Linked DNA regions of Homo sapiens: region 2 is linked to region 1. The links are contacts of gene promoters, found by promoter capture Hi-C in human tissues and cell types (Jung and others, 2019). All regions are on one chromosome and are shown on one strand. Each heading gives the region's core, a stretch centred on a gene start or on the middle of the fragment in contact. The rest is flanking DNA. Distances are from core to core; before and after follow the strand shown.

Region 1 (6,610 bases), core at 1,487-3,986:
AGCTAGGCAAGGAGGTGACACTAAGCATTTGAGTACTGATGGGGTCTTGAATGAACAAGTAAATGAATGAATGAATGGATGGTGGCCGATGACTGTCATCTCTAGTTCTTACATTATGTATCTTATGCATCAGACTACACGGCATGGATATTCAGTGCAATGGATTTGATTGTGAATTGAGGCCCCCTTTTGCAATCTTGTTGCATGTTATGTTCGTGGAGCTCCTGCAATGAGCAGAGGCTGCTAAGCAGAAGCAGCGCACAGGCTGGGGGCAGGACACAGGGCCCCCGGCCTCAGGGGAGAGGTCTGTTCCAGCCACCTCAAGTCTATTCCTGTGAGTGCCCCTCCACACCCCTCCTGGATCCCCCCACTGCAAACTCTCTCCCCCTGGCTCCGGACTCTCTCCCCGTCCTGGAATTAATAAAGACTCTGTGCAGACTGCGGTTTGCAAGTCTGAAAGCTGGTTCCTGCCCGTGTCACTGCCTCGAGAAGAGAGGGGTCCAGCTCCCCACAGTAGCCCCTGCCTTCCTCCTTCCCAGGCAGGCGGAGGCACGCAGATATACCATTGACTTCCCCTCCCCTGCAGCAGGCACATCCTGGGCATCGAGCTTCAGACCCTGCCCCTGAGCAGCCCCTAACCCCACCAACAAAGGGTGGCTTGGGGGGGCTTTCACCCCAGCATAATCTCCATCAGCTACCCTCAAAGCACCCCCAAATAAACACACACCGTAAGTAAGAGCTGTACACTGGCTGTGTGCGTACATCTTCAAGACAATTCTCCCAGCATGCCCCTACCTTCCAAAATTCCAGAGCTGCTCCCTCCAAAGACCCAGGGAAAAGGAAGGGTTTGTCCAGGGTCCTGGGGTGGCCCCGTATAGACCAAAGCCTGATAGCTGTCCTAGAAGCAGAGTACTTGCAGAGCGAGTGACGGCAACTGTGGTATTGACACCAGTCCTAGCACCAGCTGAACACAGAGCATTTTTGATCTAGCAGAAATACAAGACCACGTTGTATTTGTCTTTGCAATAATCTCTTAGCTAGGAATACTGATCACCTGTAGACAGATAAGGAAACTGATGCTCTGTGGAGAGGTTTTCCTACCAGAAAGGCTAGAGCCAGAAATTTACTTCTAGGTCCACCAATACCTGCCTTTGACCAATGCCTGCATTTGACCTTTCCACGCTGAGCCACCCCTGCTGGCACTCCAGACTGCCACAGTGCTCCTGCCTCCACAAGGGGTCTTTAACTCATCCCTCGGAGCCATCGTGGTGCAGGGAAAAGCCCACAGGGCGTGTGGCTTCCATGCTGTTCCCTGACTGGCTGTGACCTAGGACAAGGAACAAGTTTCCCTCTCCTATTCTCTAGGTCTCACATTTCTTCTCCTCTAGCAGTAGTGGGAAGTGAGGGGTGGGGGACACGACCCTCCCCTGTTCCATCCCACACTCCAACCCCCAAAATCCCCCAGGGTCCCCGTCCAGCTCAGTCCTGGGGGCAGAAATGCAGAGTTCTCCAGGAACGTGGTCCCAGCTGTTTCAGTGCAGGCCGCCCCCTCCTGGCCACCAGCGGAATGTCAGCCTTCCCAGAGGGGCCGGGAGAACAGCAGTCGAGAAGCTCCCAGACTGGTGTGGGCGCTAGCTGTGCTCAGCGTGGGGATGGGAGGTGACCCAGTGATAATGGGAAGCTGGGCTGCCTGTCAGTCTGCGGGGGGCTCCCACCTCCCTGTTCCCCCACAGGGCACCTGGGGATCCAGCCTGATTTTTACCAGACCCTGCGGCCTGCATGGGGCTGGGTATAGGGCTGTGACCTTGACCCATGCAGAATAGAACCCTGTGTGTCGGGATCCTCCATGTGCTCCAGATGCCCCTGGGGACAGCACCAACATGGCCTTAACTCCCAAGCCATTCCCCTGCCTCTAACCCCCTGGCATCTGCAGGCATCCACCCCAGACCCACCCAACACCTCCTCCCCAGCTTCAGGCGCTAGGCAGAGACCTTGGCCCCTGCAGAATGCAGCCCTGTCCAGGGTCCCCTACCTTCCCCCCAGATCCCTCCCAGAGCAATACCAACCCGGGCCTACCTTCCAGGCCATTCAACCTGCAGCCCCCCGGCCTCTGTAGACATCGCACCCCCCAAACCCCCAGACCTGCCCAATGCCTCCCCTCCCCAGCTTTGGGCAGAACCTGTCTCTAGCCAGACCTGGGGGTGTTGGGGAGTCTGGAGGGCCGGGGTGGGGGCTGAGGCGCGGGACAGCTGGCCCGTATCCTCACACTGGGCCCGGGGCCCAGCCGGAGGGGCGGGGGCCTGGCCACTCGGGCCTTGGCTGGGGCTGGGATTTTTGGCCTGGCCGCCAGGCCCTCCCTTCTGCTTCCTCTCCCGAGGGCTGTCCTGGCAGAGGCCCCCCTCGCTCTTTCTGGCGGGAACAGGGCCAGCAGCGAAAGAACAGTCGCAGAGGGAAAGCGGGAAAGAGATGGGGGAAAGTGTGTGTGTGTGAGTGTGTGCTTGTGTGCATGTGTGTGCGTGTGTGTGTCAAGGAAAAAAGCTCGCAGTCCAGCAGCCCGGGCCTGGGAGGCTTGTGAGCCGGGCCTTTCGTAATTGTCCCCTCCCCGCGGCCCCCTCCCCCAGGCCTCCCCCCTCTCCCGCCCTCCCGCCCGCCCTCTCTCCCTCCCTCTTTCCCTCACAGCCGACGAGGCAACAATTAGGCTTTGGGGATAAAACGAGGTGCGGAGAGCGGGCTGGGGCATTTCTCCCCGAGATGGCGGGTCTGACGGCGGCGGCCCCGCGGCCCGGAGTCCTCCTGCTCCTGCTGTCCATCCTCCACCCCTCTCGGCCTGGAGGTAAGGACCCCTCGCCCCTGTCCCCAGCGCTGCCCACAGCTGCGGGCCCTTTGGGCCAGGTGACTAGACGCTCAAGGGGGAGACCTTCGTCCCTGGGAACTGCAAGGGGTCCCAGGTGGGAGCCCCTCAGCCACTGGGTCCTCGGAACTGCCCCTCCCAGGAGCCAGCCCCGTGCCCAGGAGGAACCTGTCAAAGAGACACCCTCGACTCAGAATAGTCCCAGCCCAGCATCCAGGCTTTGCTGCCCTGCGAGGGCTGAGGGGGCCCCTGCTCAGGTGCCCGGGTGCCCGCCCTGTAGGGGGATCAGAGCATCCTGGGGGAGGGCCCAGCGGGAACCCCTGGGTCTGGAGACACCACAGTCTGCACACCTGTGGACACAGCTGGGGTGCACACCAGCCCTGGGGACAGGGAACCTGGGCTTGATACCAGCTCAACCGCAGTGAGCTGTGTGACCTCAGCAGGTTCCTTGACCCCTGGGAAGCCGGGATCCCCCCGTCAGGAAGGTCAGGGCTCCGCTGAGGATGGGTTTGCAGGTTGGGAAGCTGCTGCTGTGTTCTCCCTGCTGAGGCAGGCAGGGACTCCTGGTATGCATTTGTGTGTGTGTGTGTGTGTGCATGCACACAGGAATGAGCGTGCTGTGTGCTCGTGTGTGTATGTGTGCATGCACAGGTGTGCATGTGTTCAGATGCCCGGCTGTGTCACTGAACAGGGAAAGGGATTTCTGGAGGGGTACATATGTCTGCTCACAGGTTCATCCTTAGGCAGGTGTATGCGTATGTTTGGAGGAGGTATATGAAGCTGCTCCTTAGTGTGTGCAAAAGTCTGCCACCTGACAGACATGTAGACATGTACACATGTAGACATGGGCGATCTGGCATCCAGGTGTGACACTGGTGTGGACTGTCACTGTGTGTGTTATGGAGTGTGTACATCTGTGTGTGTGAATGTGTGTGCGATGTGGCACGCAAGCATGGAAAGGCGGGCTGGAGAAGGTGTCTGTCTCCTGGCAGAGGCAGTGTGGCTGAGACAGAGGCTGGAGTGGATCCTGGGGCACTGCTGGGCCATCTGCTATGTGCCCCAACCCAGGCACAGTTGGTTATGGGGTTTGAGGGTGTGCCCTGTGGGGCTGCTATGCCGCGGCCAACGGGGGAGGACAGAAGAGGCTCCCGGGCATGGGAAAAAGGAGGGCATTTGGTAGGGGGGTCTGGGTGGAGTCTGGTTTCCTCGGGAGTCCTCCTTGCCATGAGAACCAAACGCTGAGTGGGGGGCGGGAGGGCCACGGGGTGGAGTCAAGGGCCTGGGCAGGAGCTGCAGCTGTTTCCGTGAGATTGAACAGCTTCCTGTGCAGGGTCCGCTGCTGGACCTGGATGAGGCCAAGGGACATGGGTACCCACAGGCGGGCCCCAGCAGGGGCAACGAGCCAGGGCCTGAAAGCAGCAGCCCCGGGTCCGTCTCAGCCTCCTCCCCAGGTGTAGCCCCCAAACACCCAGCCACCCTTCTTCCCAGATGGGGCCACCACCTATAGGGTGGCAGTTCATCATCAAGGAACCTTGAGAATTAGAAATTATTATCATCACTTGACAAACAAGGAAGCTGAGGCTCCGGCAGGCTAAGGCAGTCCCCGGGGGTTAGTATCAGCCAGCTCTCTGCCCCAGGTCAAGGGGCAAGGGGGTTAGGAGTGAGCTAGCAGGCAACATTTGGGGAGGGGAAGGCTTGGGGCTGAGTCCTTAAAGCAGGCATGCCCTAGGCAGAATCAGCTCTCTCCTTGTGTCCTCAGTGACACCGCTAAACGCCCAGCTGGCCTCACACTTTGCAGAGATCAATCTCAGCTCTGTCCCAGGTGGCTGGACTTGCTAGGTCCAAATAAGGGGTGTGTGAACTGATGAGCTCGTGTGGGGTTTTGCACAGAAGTGCTACTGAAGTCTGCAGAGGTCGGGGAGCCAACACAGGGAGTGGAGCGCTCAGTCACATGCTCACTGCCACTCACCTGGCTGTCCTGGGGGAGCCTGGCTTCTCCCTCAAGGAGGAGGGTGTCACTTATGCAAGTTCAGCGGCTCCAAGGAAGGAACCCTGTTGCGGGGGTGGGGGAGCAGGAGGAGGGGACAAGCCGCACAGCTCCCAGGCTGTTTCAAAAGTGAGCATGAGAAATTAACCCAGGGATAATTCTTCCCCATCCCCCAGAAATAGTATCAGGGATTTTTTTTTTTTTTTTTCCTGATTTCAGAACTGAAGATGGTTTGGAACAGAGGTTTCCTTTTCTTTTATTTTCCTTTTTTATTTTTATTTTTTTACCTTTTTTATTTTTTTTAAATTGAGACAGGGTCTCGCTGTGTTGTCCAGGCTGGTCTGAATTCCTGGGCTCAAGTGATCCTCCCACCTCCGCCTCCCAAAGTGCTTGGATTACAGGCATGAGCCACTGCCTCTTTTTAAATATTTTTTTAATTATTGTTTTCCGTCCTTAAGTAGGAACAGGGGTTTTCAACCTGGCTATCTATTAGACTTCCCACCCAAGAATCCCTGCTTGCTTTGGTTGGAGAGGGACCTGGACACAGACTTTTCAGGCTTCCCAGGTGACGGTGGGGTCGCCAGGGCCAAGAAGCACTGGTTTAGAGGTCGATCCCGCTCTGTGTGTCTGCCGAGGCCCCGGCATGAGGGCAAATGTGCCCTGTGTGGGAGGGGACACAGTCACCCAGTGGAGGACAGCTTGTTTTTGAAAACCCTTGGCAGCCTTCTGCATGCAAACAACAAACAGCTTCGTGTGGTCTTATCTGCTCCCCAAGCCAGCCCCCTGGACTTTGGTTTGGCAAAGCCCCCTGCCAAGATCGGCTGGCCCCAGGCTCGCTCCCAAACAGGCTGCTTCCAGCTCTTTGAACCTGGAGCCCAGGGCCCAGGCAAATGGCCCTACATGTGACTTGGGGTCAGCTGGGGGTCCCAGACCAGGCTCTTCAGCTCACTGGTTCTCCATTTCCCTGGCTGCAAAATGGGGAGAAACAGCCCTGCCTGAAGTACCTCCTAGGGCCAGTGAGAGCTTCTAGCAATGTAATATCTGGGGGGAAAAAAAGCATCAAATAAAAGGACCGTGGGAATGGGCATTTTTAAAATAATCTATTCTCTTATTCAGAGTCTGCTAATTTGGGCTCATGGATCCTTGTAATTAGTGCACATTGCTAAGGTTTAATACTCCCTCTCACTACTTACACCATGTTTTGTCTAGTGGAGGGGCAGCTAATGTGTAAATAGATGTGCAATGATGAAAGAAGCAGACAGGACTCGGTTGGGGGTGGCCAGAAGGAGCCTTGAGAAATCCAGGAAGGCTTCCCAGCAGAAGTGACATTTGAGTTAAACCTAAAGAGAAAAGTAAATGGGGCCAGGTGCAGTGACTCATGCCTGTAATCCTAGCACTTTGGGAGGCCCACATGGGCAGATTGCTTGAGCCCAGGAGTTTGAGACCAGCCTGGGCAACATAGGAAGGCCCCCGTCTCTATTTAAAAAATAAATGAATATTTAAAAAGAAAGAAAAAGAAAGAAAGAGAGAGAGAGAGAGAGAAAGGAGAGAGAGAGAGACAGAAAGAAAGAAAGGAAGGAAGGAAAGAAGGAAGGAAGGAAGGAAGGAAGGAAGGAAGGAAGGAAGGAAGGAAGGAAGGAAAATGTTGGAGGACCTGTCTGTGGATGAGGGGTAAGTCCCCAGACTACAGGCCCTGGCAGGCAGAACTGAAGAGACAGAAGAGCAGATTCTCGATTGGAGGAAGCCCTGTCTGCAGTTAGTGCTGACAGCAT
Region 2 (6,610 bases), core at 2,950-5,449, 260 kb after region 1:
CAACATCCAATCATTTCAGCAGAAGCGGTTTGGGTTTAAGTTTCTTTTATTAGTCCCCAAAGCAGCACATGCCTGTTGCAGAAAAATTCAGAAAAGGGAAGAAAAAAGTCCCACGGATTCCCCCCACCCAAAGCCCACCACAGTTACCAGTTTTTTTGAGACAAGGTCTCACTTTTTCACCGAGGCTGGACTGTAGTGGTACGATCTTGGCTCACTACAACCTCCGCCTCCCGGGTTCAAGCGATTCTCCTGCATCAGCCTCCTGAGTAGCTGGGATTACGGGCATGTGCCACCATGCCTGGCTAGCTTTTTGTGTTTTTAGTAGAGACAGGGTTTCATCATGTTGCCCAGGCTGGTCTCCAACTCTGGGGCTCAGGCAATCCTCCTGCCTTGGCCTCCCAAAGTGCTGGGATTACAGGCATGAGCCACCACAACTGGCCCACAATTTTAAAAATAAAATAAAATAAAATGGGATCTTGCTCTGTTGCCCAGGCTGGAGTGCAATGGTATGATCATAACTCACTATAGCCTCCAACTCGTGGGCTCAAGTGATCCTCCCACCTCAGTCTCCCCACTCGCTGGGATGACAGGCATGAGGCACTAAGCTTGGCTCCATATCCGCAGTTTCATGAAGTGTATTTTCCTGGTGGGTGTAAATACGTAACTGTTTCCCCACATTATAACAAATGCCTTGTAAACAGCAGTTCAGACACTGCAAACATATCCCATCCTGTAGCTGTCCTATGGATTCTAAAATGAAAAATAAAAAAATAAAAATAGGCCAGGCGTGGTGCCCAGAGCCTGTAATCCCAGCGCTTTGGGAGGCCGAGGTGGGAGGATCACTTGAGGCCAGGATTTCGAGACCAGCCTGGGCAACATAGAAAGCCTCTGTCTCTACCCCTGAAAAAGTAAAATAATAAATAAACAAATAAATAAATAAATAAATAGTATACCAGAGAGATCGCCACCTGCAAAGCAGCCCAGGCCTCTCCCGTGGCTGGCCCATTGCAGGCCTCAGAGAATTCAGCTCTGGCTCGAAAATTATTCCCAACTCTCTCTTCCCATGAAAAATCCTCCCGTGAGGCTGCTGGTCACAGCCGGCGTCAGCAAGAAAATGACCAAATCAGCAGTTTCAGTGGAGACAAAAGGCCTGGGTGAGAGGTCGGCTGGGAGAACACCCCCTCCAGATCCCCCCGCCTGCCTCCCCACCCATCACGGAGGCCTGATGCCAGGGCAGGGGCCAAGGCCAGGACCCCAACCCTCACATCAGACAGCATCAGGTTCATCTACTGAAAGAAGCAGAAAAACTCGAACGCAAACTTTTTTTTTTTTTTTTTTTTGAGACAAAGTCTTGCTCTTGTTGCCCAGGCTGGAGTGCAATGGTGCGATCTCAGCTCACTGCAACCTCCGCCTCCCGGGTTCAAGTGATTCTCCTGCCTCAGCCTCCCAAGTAGTTGGGATTACAGGTGTGTGCCACCATGCCCGGCTAATTTTTTGTATTTTAAGTAGAGACGGAGTTTCACCATGTTGGCCAGGCTGGTCTCGAACTCCTGACCTTGTGATCCGCCCGCCTTGGCCTCCCAAAGTGCTGGGATTACAGGTGTGAGCCACTGTGCCCGGCCCCCCAAATGCAAACTGTAACAAGACAGAAGCCTGTCTTCTCTCATCTGGAGCAAGAACAAAAGGTGTCCCTCTCAGGTGACTTGCTCTTTGAAGCTCCACTCACCAGCGGCCAGGTAAGGTCTGTTGACCGCAGGCTGTTGCTCTGAATAATACTGGGGGCCATCAGTGAGGGAGGCAGTACCTGTGAAGGTTGGGGGCCCCTGCCTACCTCCTGAGGCACATGTGGGAGGCTAGATCTGCTGGGCAGGGGCTGGTGAGCTCAGGTACATCCCAGCAAGACCCATGTCACCTTGGCAAATCCCTGCCCCATCCCGTCCCGTCCCGTCCCATCCCATCCCATCCCTTCTGTTGCCCAGGCTGGAGTGTAGTGGTATGATCTCCACTCACTGCAACCTTCGCCTTCTGGGTTCAAGCCATTCTCAAGCTTCACCCTCCCGAGTAGCTGGGATTACAGGCATGTACCACCACACCCAGCTATTTTTTGCATCTTCTGTAGAGATGGGGTTTCATCACGTTGGCCAGGCTGGTCTCGCACTCCTGACCTCAGGTTATCTGCCCGCCACCACCTCCTAAAGTGCTGGGATTACAGGTGTGAGCCACTGTGCCTGGCTGGTTTATAACTGTTGATATACAGGTTATGCATCCCAGCCACAAGGAACAATTAGCTCCCTGTTTCCTGAACACTGCCCTCTCCACCCTGAGTCCCCTCCCTCCCTATGGGTTCACACCTCCTACAGAAGCCCAGTCTTTCTGGAGTTCACTCTGAACCTCCTCCCTTATTAGTCTCCAAGTCTGGCTCTCCACACCAACTGGGCACCCCCTCAGGGCTGACCCCATGCCCAGCCTCCATCATTACAGCATTGCATGTTCGCTGAACTGAATTGAAACACTCTCCCCAATTTACAGATGGGGAAACTGAGGTCAAAATGTTTAGGCCAGGCACGGTGGCTCACAGCTGTAATCCCAGCACTTTGGGAGGCTGAGGTGGGAAGATCATCTGAAGCCAAGAGTTTAAGACCAGCCTGGACCCCAACATAATGAGACCCCATCTCTATAAAAAACACAAAAAATTAGCCGGGCATGGTGCATGCCCGTAGTCCCAGCTACTCTGGAGGCTGAGGCAGGAGGATCATTTGAGCCTGGGAGTTTGAGGCTGCAGTGAGCTGTAATCACACCACTGCACTCCAGCCTGGGTGACAGAGTGAGACCCCTTCTCTAAAAAAAGGTTCACTCACTTCTCAAAGATTATGGATACCAAGACAGTTGAGGGGTGGTAATGTTAACTTAGTAAGTTCATTCATTCATTCAACAAATATTACTGGATGTCTACCCTCTGCCAAGCATTGCACTGGGTCCCTTAGGGGATAGGAACAAGATCGTATGTGGCACTTCTCTCCCGCAGAACAGTGGTCTCACCATACAGACCACAACCTCCCCCAACACCCACATTCCTGCACTCAAGGGAAAAGCAGGGACATTTAAGCTGTGCTTTGAAGGGGGAATATGATTTGTCAAACAGAGAAAGGGGGCAGGGCAGGACTGGTAGAACGGCCAGCTAGGTCAAAGGCATCCAGGCGAGCTTATCAAGGGGGGACAGAGGGAAACCAAGCCACAGAAGCCAACCGCAGCCTGGGCATGGACAGGGGCTGGGGCTTGGTCACTGTTTAGTTCCTGAGCTGTCACTTGGCATCTGCCTCTCCACGCAGGAGGGGACCTGGCAGCTGCCTCAACTCCTCTGAAATAGCAGTACATGCATCCTGTCCTGGGGAGGGTTCATTTGTATCTTGGAAGCTGATCACCATGAGATCCTTTTTTTTTTTTCTTTTGGGACGGAGTCTCGCTCTGTCACCCAGGCTGAAGGGCCGTGGCTTGATCATGACTCACTGCAGCCTCGACCTCCTGGGCTCCAGCGATCCTCCCACCCCAGCCTCCCCAGTAGCTGGGACCGCAGGCGCGCGCCCAGCTAATTTTTGTATTTTTTGTAGAGACGAAGGTTACGTTGCCCAGGTTGTTCTCGGACTCTTGGCCTCAGGCGATCTGCACGCCTTGGCTTCCTGAAGTGCTGGGATTACAGGCGTGAGACACTGCCCAGGCTATGAGATCCTTGATAACCATGAGACCCTGTGCCACAGTTCCCCACCCACGCTGGCCCCAACACAGACCTGAAGTTTTCGCCCCAGCTGCACTGTCCCCCTCCTCATCCTTTCTGTCCAGCGCCAACAGCATCTCACCTTCCCAAGCTGCCGTCCTTCCCAATGACCAGAGACATCTTTGCAAGCATAGCATGGCTGGAGGATGCGTTTCACCAAACGCGATGTAAGCACCACCAGGTGCCCAGCGCGGAGGTGGATGTGGGCGAACCCTGGACGCCCCACAAAGGACAGCTGCGGCCTGGGAAGGGAAGGAGATGGAGCGGGGAGAGGGGGAAGAGGTTGCTCCGCGTTTTCCGCCCGCCCGCCTGCTTTCCGCGAGGCACTGAGGCCTGAAAACCGCGAGGCCGCCCACGCGCGCCTGACCCGCCCCCCCCTCCCGCCCGCCCCAGGCCCCGCCCTCCCGCGCCCGCCCCTGCGCCGGCCCCTTTTGTTCCCTCCCGGAGCCGGGCCGCTGGCTCCGCTGGCTCCGCTGGCTCCGCGGGCGCTCAGCTCGGCTCGGCCGCGGGGCGCGCAGGCGGCTGCTGGGCGGCCTCGGTGCGCGCCTCCCGCCTTCCCAGAGACGTGGCGCGAGGCCCGGGCCCTGAGCACCTATCGCGGGGATCCCCGGCGCCAGGAGGGGGTGCAGCCGGTGGGCAGCGCCGCGCAGGGAGGGGCCGCAGCATCCTCGCCCCCCAGCGCGCCCGGGCCCGAGAGGAGGAGGCCGGGGCTCTCCGGGCCTCCCGCCGCTTAGCCTGATGCTGGAAGGACGAAGGTAGGGGCTGCTGGAGGGGCCGAGGGAGGGGGTCGCGCGGGCAACAAAGGACGGAGAGATGCGGGGGGCGGCGGCCTGGCCGAAAGCGGGGCTGCGGGCCCGGAGGCATTGTCGGGGCGTGGGCGGGGGCGGGAGGGTTCGAGGCCGGCCGGTGGGCGTGGGCGGGAGCTGGCTGGGGTGTGCCCCAACTTCCCCGTTGCTTGTAGGAGAGGAGGGGGCACTGCTTGGGGTGCCAGGGTTGGGGGCTATTCCCGGGCTGCGGGTCCCCCTGTTGAAGGCATCACCAGCCTCATCGGGGTCCCTACCCTCGGACGGGGGTTTGGCCCTTCTGTTGGAGGGTCGCCCGTACCCCCTTCCAAGGGCAGAGCAAGACGGCTGGACGCGCCGCAGGGCTCTCTGGGCTCACAGAGCCTGGGGAGCACAGCCTGGTGGGCGCGGCCATGCAGCCCCCATCTCCAAACCTGGGGTCTGGGAGAACAGGGACTGCCCCCCTCTCCTCCCTGCTACACCCTCTGGGGTCGCCTGGCCGATGGCCTTTGCAAAACTTGGTTGAAGTGCTTGGCTGAGGTGGGGTAGGAGGAGATTGAGGCGGGCGGCTTCTCTCAGGGGGTGTCCCCCCAAGCTGGCGCTGGTGGCTGGTGAGGCAGCAGATTTTCTGCCCTCCTCCCGGGGAGGGGCGGCGGCCGCGGAGGATGCTTGGCTGAACCTTCAGGGCCCGCCCGTTTGGACCTTTCAGGCAGAGCTTGGGCCGAGCGGGTGCCCACTGGGCACTGCCACGCAGGCCCCAGCCCCACCCTGGGAAGGACGGGCAGAGGGAGCACCTTGGGGGGAAATCACCCACCCAGCAGTGTGTCCCCCAACGTCTGAGACCCCTCCTCTCACTTCTGGGTGAGAAGTGGGGGTCTGGGATGAGGGGGTCTGCCGTCACTCTTGCGCGATGCCTGAGGGAGGTGGGTGGGGTGGCCTAGGGCTGTGGGCAGAGGAGGAGGAGGGTGCGGGGAGCACCACGTGTGTGCTTCAGAAGCCTCTTCCCTTTCGGTTGTAAATGTAAACAATAAGCCCTTCATTCAGCTGCTGTTACCTGGCCTGGCACTTCTAGGGGCTGGCTGGTCCACAGGACAGCAGCCTCGGTGTCCCCAAAAAGTGCAGCCCCGGGGGTTGATGAGTGCATTAGTGGGGAAGCTGGGGGCATAGAGGGGGTCCCCTGGAGGATGGGGCAGACCAGGAAGCTTCATAGAGCATCTTGCAGAAGTTTGCTGCCAGGTTGCCTGAAGGGGGTTTCGTGCAGGAGAAATAGCGTGAATAAGGGCTTGGAGTCAGAAAAGGAGGCTATTGGGTTAGAGAAACAGCTTAGGATTTAAGGAACTTAGACCTGCGTTGAGCACAGGATGCATTCTTGTCTGCAGTGCCTTGCGGGGGAATGATGGGATTCTGGCTTCAGGACAGGTGGAGGCGGTGGAGATGGAGAGGGGCTCCAAAGGCAGAAGAGGCAGGTGGAGGCGCCTGGGAGGAGCCTCCTCCACACACACCTGTGTGCACCTGCAAACTCCAGCCCTCAGCACCGTGCAGGCTGGGAAGGTGGTGCCTGGAATTCTGCACTCAGAGCCCAAAGTCCCAGCAGGGGGAATTTACTCCAAGGAGCAGTAATCGCTTTCCGGCATCTGCTGTCTACCTTGGCGGTGAAGAGTTCAGATGCTGGAGCTTAACAGCCCGGGTTCAAATCCCAGCTCTGCCACTCCCTAGCTATGTGACCTTGCACATTGCATCTCTCTCTGCCTCGACATCCTCATCTGTAAAATTGGGATCCTTATGGTATCTGGCTTTTAGGGTTGTTAGGAGAACTGTGTGCCCTGTGACAGAGTAGATGTCCTATAAGTGTTGTTGCTGCCGTACAGAGTGGCTTCCTGGCCCCACTCACACACGTTTCAGGGAGAGGAGGCTCGTGCCCCTTCCAGGCTGTTTGTCCTTCTTCAGCACCCTTGCTGGTTAGCCCTGACCCGGCACCTGCTGTTCTCTGCCTCACTGCAGCCTCCTCCCTGGTCCTGCCTCCCTTGGTGATAGAAAGGCCATCTCCCCACAGCCC

The links. Contacts are between HindIII fragments. The study calls those that stand out against the background at their distance.
Region 2: a contact is called between the fragment with the promoter of CLIP2 here and the fragment with the promoter of ELN in region 1, in 1 of the 25 tissues and cell types used here (aorta).

What each region holds. Positions count from the first base shown.
Region 1 is chr7:74,025,437-74,032,046 of GRCh38, forward strand. It overlaps ELN (elastin), which reads left to right and starts at 2,737. Exons shown (of 33, transcript NM_000501.4): 1 at 2,737-2,833. The coding sequence starts at 2,752. RefSeq lists enhancers at 1,148-2,120, 3,093-4,064. The HindIII fragment of the contact is 22,090 bases long and covers 1-6,610 here.
Region 2 is chr7:74,285,208-74,291,817 of GRCh38, forward strand. CLIP2 (CAP-Gly domain containing linker protein 2) reads left to right here and starts at 4,200. Exons shown (of 17, transcript NM_003388.5): 1 at 4,200-4,527. LOC107986742 (a long non-coding RNA gene) reads right to left here and starts at 4,100. Exons shown (of 2, transcript XR_001745024.2): 1 at 3,855-4,100. RefSeq lists silencers at 4,119-4,588, 4,609-4,678 and enhancers at 4,554-5,198, 5,199-5,842. The HindIII fragment of the contact is 6,317 bases long and covers 1,327-6,610 here.